2 separate regions of the Homo sapiens genome follow, and region 2 is linked to region 1. Evidence: promoter capture Hi-C in 16 types of primary human blood cells and fetal thymus (Javierre and others, 2016). All regions are on one chromosome and are shown on one strand. Each heading gives the region's core, a stretch centred on a gene start or on the middle of the fragment in contact. The rest is flanking DNA. Distances are from core to core; before and after follow the strand shown. Region 1 holds the start of GIMAP4 (GTPase, IMAP family member 4). Region 2 holds the start of LOC105375567 (a long non-coding RNA gene).

Region 1 (3,594 bases), core at 609-3,108:
AGCTTCCCCTGAGGGTGCAGTAGGTTGAACTGTCTCTTTCATATGTTTTTGGAGGTTAGCATACATAACCTCCTGATTCTCCCCCTTTTTTAACTGGAGCTAGATGTTGAGGTGATCAGGCCCAACCCCTTTAATGCCTGCATGATCTCGTTCCCATTCCTGATATTAATAACTTGTATACTGTATGTTTTGCCCCTTTTCTTGATTTATGTAGATAGAGGCTTATCAATTTTATTAATTATTTCCAAAGAATTCATGTTTGATTTTATTGGTTTTCTCTATTTTTTTTTTCTGTTTCAAGATTTCTTCCCTTTAGTATTTCCTTCATCCTCCTTACTTTAGGTTCAATTTGCTGTTCCTTTTCTAAATTTTTAATGTGGTATCACAAATTATTGTTTTCATTTCTGGATCTTTAATGTAGACATTTTTGTCTACACATTGCTTTATTGTTAAAGCATTAGATGAAACGTGGTGCTCACTGCAAATGTAGTCCCTAACAGAGAACTTTCCTACTGCAGTGATCCCTGTAACCTGAATAAAGATTCCCTAAGTAATGATCCAGTGCTTTAATAGTACTAAAAATAAATACTATATTTTGCATCAATTTCTGTAATTAAATAGAATAATATATACCTTCTAGCCAGGTTTAGGCTTCAGAAACAAAATATAATCCTAGTCTTTTAAGGTATCTCAGTTCAGAATCGCGGAGATGCTTTCTCATGCTGCCTGTTCTTTTGGACTTGCCTTCGTTTGCCTGTCAAACCAAGGGACCAAGTGGTCTTTGTTATTTAAGTCATGTTGCTCTGGAATGTAAATTATCCTTACTGTTGGTGCAAGATGTATTCCATTGCCTTGTTCTGCTTTTTAGTGTAGCCATCCTGTGCTTGTATACCCAGGGCCAATCACATTCTATCCTCAAAGAAATGTATGTCTTTCTCTTACAGTTCTCTTTAGAATTATTAGCAATTTTATAATTACTAAAGTGCTATGTAATTCTAAATAAGGTCTCAGCTGTGGGGTATAATGGTAAATTGAGACCCCTTTTACAATGGAAAAATAACTGGTTATAACGGTGAGCTGGGACCCCATTACAATACTCTCAAAGTTTCCATTTTAGTGGTAAGTAGTGTCAGATGTCAGTGTTTAGAATATTTCAGTGGTTCCAGGACCATCTCAGGAGGTGAATTTTGGGCCCATCCTAGTCAGTCCAGTGAAAGTCATTTACTCTCTTTTGCTTCTAGCAGATGACTCATGGACATACCCTGGAAATAAGGACACACTGTGGACTCAGAGGACATACCTGAGGTACTGGGAGAAAGGGGTATGGGGGCTTAGCTGGGAGGCCTGTTGTGCTGAGCAGGGGTTCAGGGGCTCAAGGGTCTTTCAGAATAACTGATAACTCTCTAGTTTTGGCCCAGAAGTTTCTTCCAGAATGTCACAGCATGACCCATGTTTTTTGTCTCACTGCAGAGCCTTTGCAAGGTTCAGTATGGTAGCCACCAGGCATACCAAGCTGAATATTCCTTCTTTCCTTCTGGGGAAAATGCCTGGTGCAAGTTGTTCTGCCTGACTTTGCCTTTTAGAATTCTGACAATGGAGTAGCTATTTAACTTTAAATAAATTGAAACAAAATAAAATTTAAAATTCAGAACTGCAATCACACTCGTCACATTTCAAGCGCTCAGTAGTCACGTGTGGCTAAGGGTCACCATCTTGGACAGCACAGAACAACCCCATCCCTGCAGAAAGTTCTATTAGAGCTGCTGGATGATCAGGTGGGCAGGTCCCTTGCACAAGTAAATCTGGACAGCTCCTCCCCTCACTTCCTCTCTTCTCCTGTTTCTCAACATCCTGGCTTAGTATTGTGTGCAAAATCAGAGAGGGGTGCAAGATCCTGATTTTTCAGGTAAGGGAATAGGGGTGTGTGTGGTGGGGGTCGGGACGAATGTGCGATTTTGGTGAGGAGGGACCTGTATCTTAAATCGTCTGGTAAACATGTTTTCAGACTATATTCTCGCTGGTTCCCGTTTCCTGGCTTTGCTAATTTTAGGCTGTGATCTGTTTTCAAGGCTGAGCCCTACAAATCAATGCCTCTTCCAGAGATTGCTGCTCAGAGGATACTTGTTTTACAAATAAATGTTTCCTCTCGCTGGTTGTGGAATTTATATAGAAACTTTGATTCTTCCAGGGATAAAGTTGGGTGAGCGGACAGAATTAGCTCTGGGGGAGCTGGTGGGAAGAGGAACATTGGGATGTGTAAGGGGCACAGCTCCATATGTGGCCCCACAAAGACTGCACCCAGGTCAGGATTGGAGGCTCTGCAGTCTGAGGTCTTGTTACAGGGTTAACTGTCTGCTCGGAGCTGCCCGTTAGGGAAACTGTCTCCTCAGGGACAGTCCTGGGTTTACTGGGCATTGAGCTCCCCTTTAGCGGGTAGGAGGAGGGAGATGCCACCTGGTGTGACTCTCTACAGTTCAGGAGAAGCTGGATGCTGATGGGTGCTTGTTCCTTAGGCAGAGAGAGGAGAATTCAGCCACCTGAAGTCAGCACCTACAGAAGCACAGTCTCCTGGCTTTGCCTCTGAATTATTAACAGCAGAGCAGCATTAAAGAGCCCACACACTAGAAGGAGGATATGAAGAAACACCCAGAGAATGTCACAAAAACCCAGAATGTCACAGTATTGTTTTCTTCTTGCTGGTGTCCTATCCTCTCTCCTAACACCAGCCACCAAAGCTGATTTTTAAAAAATGCCATGATTTCTCTTGTTTACAAGAAGCTGTTTCCTATACCCTATTCTTGAAGGATAAAGAAATAGTCATTCAAAAGAAATATCTGGCTTTTCACAGTGTTTCATATTTGTTGGCTTCCTATGAGGTGACTCTGTCTTTAACAACTACCATTTTCTGCCTGTTTTGTTCAAAGTCTGCTCCAATAAGAGTTCTTCAAATATCTTTCTCCATTGCAAAATGTTTGTAGGTAGCAATGAAATAAAACATTTAAAATTAATACCATGTTTCTATAACACTACATATTAATTAATAAAGGAATGGATTGTCATTTTCACAGATCAGATGTGGGCTGGACATAATGATCAATCAAAGGCAAGAAGCAGGGAGATTATCCATTTATTTATTTAACAATGATCGATAACCATTCTTTGCCCAGTATTGTGCTTGTCCCCAGGGAATAATGAGAAATACAAGACATATGTGGTCTTCTCATCACAAAGCTTGTAGTATAAGAGGAGACAGTAAAAAAATCAAGCAATTAACTTCCTAAAGTAATACATATTCTGTAAGAAGCCTCTGGGGTGCAGTGGATCATAACAGAGGGTGTTGCTGGTAGACAGTGGTGTTGGGGAAGACTCTCTGGAGAGCCGAGGCCTGCGGGTTGAGCAGGAACAAGCTGGGCACTAGGTTGGAGGGTGAGTGCTCCAAAGAGAAGGAATGATAACTGCAAAGGCCTTGAAGGTGGAAGGAGCCTAGATTTCCAGAACATTGAGGGTAGTGTGGCTCACACATAGGAGAGAGGAGAGAGCTGATCACACAGGGCCTATGGGCCATTCTGAGGACTTCAGTTATTTTGAAACCAA
Region 2 (3,594 bases), core at 382-2,881, 310 kb after region 1:
GTCCAAGATCAAGGCCCTGGCAGCTTCAGTGTCTGGGGAGGGCCTGCTTCCTGGTGCATGGACTGGCCATCTTCCCACTGCGTCCTCACATGGTGGAAGGGACAAGAGAGTTTTCTGCGGTCTTTTTTTTTTTTTATAAGGGCATTAATCTCATTTGTGAGGGCACTGCCCTTGTGACCTAATCACCTTCCAAAGGCCCCATCTCCTAATGCTACCACTATGGAGATTAAGATTTCAACACATGAATTTGAGGGAGACATACTCAGTCCATTGCAAGATGTCACCATTAGAGAAATCCAGTTGAAGGTTCACAGAACTCCGTACTCTTTTTGCTACCTCTTGTGAGTTTATAATTACGCCAAAACTAAAAAGCTTTCTTAAAAATATATATACAAATTCTCAAGTAAAATATAGTAAACTTGTTACTTTTTCAGGTATTTGATGCCTTTATCTGTAAATTCTTTCAAAGGAAATATGGCATGAACAAATATTGAGACAGGGATGTTTCACCAACTCTCAACTCCCCTTATTCAAGGGTTGGATCATAATAACTACATCTAAGTAATCCAGAAATTATCATTTTACTGAAAACCACGAAGACTATGTAGATGGAGAGAGATGAAAGAAGTACTATTTTTAAATCTGCAGCTTTATATCAATATACATAAATACATACCAGATAACCATATTTTATAAGAATACATATATATTCAAGGGTATATGTCAAATTTTAAAAAGAAAGGGGATTTGGCGTGGTCCTATCATTATGAAAGGGGATTCGGCGTGTTCCTGTCCTTATTTTACTCATCATGTCATCCCCTATCGTCTACCAGGCGTCCAGGCGCTGAGGACCAACCTTCTCTTCCTCCTCTGGCTAAGAAAACAATCAGCTTTCCCAGAGCCACCGCTGTCTGGACGCTAGATGGCGCCGCTGAGCTCCCCCCACCCCCCGCCTTTCCCCCACCCCCCCGCCTCCTCCCCACCACCCCGCCCACACCTGCGGTTCCTGCAGAGGGGTTGCTCAGGTGACCGGGCCGTTTGGACCACTTGGTTCAAATTCAGGATCCAGGTAGATGCAGCTGGGGAAAGCAGGGAGGAATGGGAGGCTACAGACAGAATGACCACATGCGTGCCTTCCTGCAGGGCTTGTCTTCTCCAAAGCCCCTGGTCAGTCACATGTTTTACTTGGCTCCCTTCCTTCTTCCTCGCCTTCTCCAGACCCTCTAAGCATGTGCCTTTGTCTCTTCCCAAACCTCCTGAGTCGCCTGAGGCCCTCTGGTGGTTCAATTCTTTATTGGAAGAACAAGCAACATGTTTACCCCAAGGGTTTCCACGGAGAAATACAAACACGTCTATTATTGGCAAGAAAAGCAGCACTGATTTGTTGAAGAACTAGGGAATTGTTCTAATTCTGCAGATTAGTCTCTTCTTGTCTTTGGTTGAAGTAACACAACCATCTCCATAGAGGTTCCTAAGCATAGAGGAAGATTGTATTGTAACAATACAAGGCTGCCGTAACTATGTAATTGGCCATAATTGAAGACAAGAATGGTGGGAAGTATGGGTTTGCAATTACCTAATATTCCTGTCCTAACCCATTTCAGGAGATCTTGCTGCGAGGTGCATGTTACCCATATAACAGACCCTGGGAGTATACCCAGGAGCAGTGGTGCGGATCACAGAAGGGGCTTTAAGACGCCCCTGGTGTTCTATGGCCATTAGCTACCAGTAGGAGCAGCTGCACCCCTGGCTGACCACAGATGTGGCTGTCAAACACAGTGAGTTAACAAAGGACAGTGAAACAGGGGGACGTGCAAGTCAGAGGAGATGCCTGCTTCCTCCTAGATCCCCACCATTTTCCTGGCTTTCTACTCTATTCCCAAAAAGAAGACACACTGGGGTAGAGGGCTGAGGGGAATAATTCAGTCCACAGATGCAGTTTTCTCTCTTTTTGCTACCATGGTTCTGAATGAAGAGCTAATATTATACTATTCCCACCTGTGATGAGCCCCAGTCCTTTTGATTCTTTTTCTTCTTCATCATCCATCCAAACGTCCCCAAGTGGTAAACAGGCCAGCAAACCTGTTATCCTCTCTTCTGTCCCTTCCACACATGTTTTAGCTTTAGTGGAAGCTCACAGAATAACCCTCAATTATCTGTTGTGGTCTGTGGCATTACCTTCTTAAAGGAAAGCTGATGGGTTCTTTCAACAGGTTTGGGGTCCACTCCCAGCTAACAATTAGTGTGACCTTAGCCGAGCACAGTGTCTCACGCCTGTTATCCCAGCACTTTGGGAGGCCGAGGCGGGTGGATCACGAGGTCGGAGATCAAGACCATCCTGGCTAACATGGTGAAACCCCATCTCCACGAAAAATAGAAAAGAAAATTAGCTGGGCGTGGTGGCGGGCGCCTGTAGTCCCAGCAACTCATGAGGCTGAGGCAGGAGAATGGTGTGAATCAGGGAGGCTGAGCTTGCAGTGAGCCGACATCGCGCCACTGCAGTCCAGCCTGGGTGACAGAGCAAGACTCCATCTCAAAAAAAATTGTGTGACCTTGTTTTCCTTTACCATTGTTTCTAGTTGCCCAGGAATCTAGTGGGAAGATGTGGCTATGGTCTGGGGCAGGATATTTTGGGAAGCCTGGTGTCCAGGGATATTAGGCAAACAAACTTTTGCATTGCACTTAATATTTCAGAAACCCAGCTGAATAGCTCTTATTTTTATGGCACTAAGAAAGTAAATCTTAAATCTTTGCTCTTAACACCATTAAGACAAAATTATTATGAAAATTGGACAAAGTGCCTTATAGCAGCTGATATATTTAAAACATCAATGATTGTACCCTTAGCATTGTTTTATTTTTATTTTTTAAAATTATCTAAACATTGTTTCAAAGCTTGTGAAACTACTAAAAGACAAAGGATTGTAAATGTCAATGAAAGGAAAAGTAAAACAGCAAGTATTTTAGCATACGGGGGCAATCAAGTCATAAAGAAAAAGGGTTAGTAGCTCACTAGACAATAAATTATTATAAAGAAGAGCCAAGAAAAGTATTGCTTTGAAACTTTTTACTTTTAACCTTCAGCCTTACTGAAGAATTTGTTCACTATACTTTAAAAATTTATTATTCTGATCATATTTTCCTTGATTTAAGAGTAGTGTCTTCAACATTAGCTGATATACCTACTAATAGCATCCCACGTCCTACCATCATTTCTTACATCTGACATCTTCTGCTGTTGATCCATAGGTTAACAAAACAAAACAGAAACTACACACAGAAAGAAAAAGAAAGGGAAGAAAGAAAAAAGAAGGAAGAGAAAAAAGCAGAGACCACTTCCAGAATGATTGTATGAGGAGCTCTGCAGACCTGCTCCCCAGCAAAACACTTATATCTAGTTAAATGATTTTTAAGCATTTAAAGTCTCTGGAAATTGTTCCCAATAAGAACAATGAGAATCTATGACACTTGAGCCATGACTCACTTCCTCTCTCCTCCATCCCCCCAACTCACTTAACAGAAGCTCCACTCTTCATGGACTTAGCCAGGAAAACACAGCTCCCTCTCCATCCAGCTCCCAGTCAAGCAATACAA

What was found. The method cuts DNA at HindIII sites, captures the fragments that hold promoters and counts their contacts. A CHiCAGO score of 5 or more calls a contact.
Region 2: a contact is called between a fragment that was not itself captured here and the fragment with the promoter of GIMAP4 in region 1, in 4 of 17 cell types (total CD4 T cells, naive CD4 T cells, M0 macrophages and 1 more). The highest score is 6.1, in total CD4 T cells.

What each region holds. Positions count from the first base shown.
Region 1 is chr7:150,565,532-150,569,125 of GRCh38, forward strand. It overlaps GIMAP4 (GTPase, IMAP family member 4), which reads left to right and starts at 1,859. Exons shown (of 3, transcript NM_018326.3): 1 at 1,859-1,906. The HindIII fragment of the contact is 6,433 bases long and covers 1-3,229 here.
Region 2 is chr7:150,876,012-150,879,605 of GRCh38, forward strand. LOC105375567 (a long non-coding RNA gene) reads right to left here and starts at 1,119. Exons shown (of 5, transcript XR_928171.3): 1 at 998-1,119. The HindIII fragment of the contact is 2,523 bases long and covers 371-2,893 here.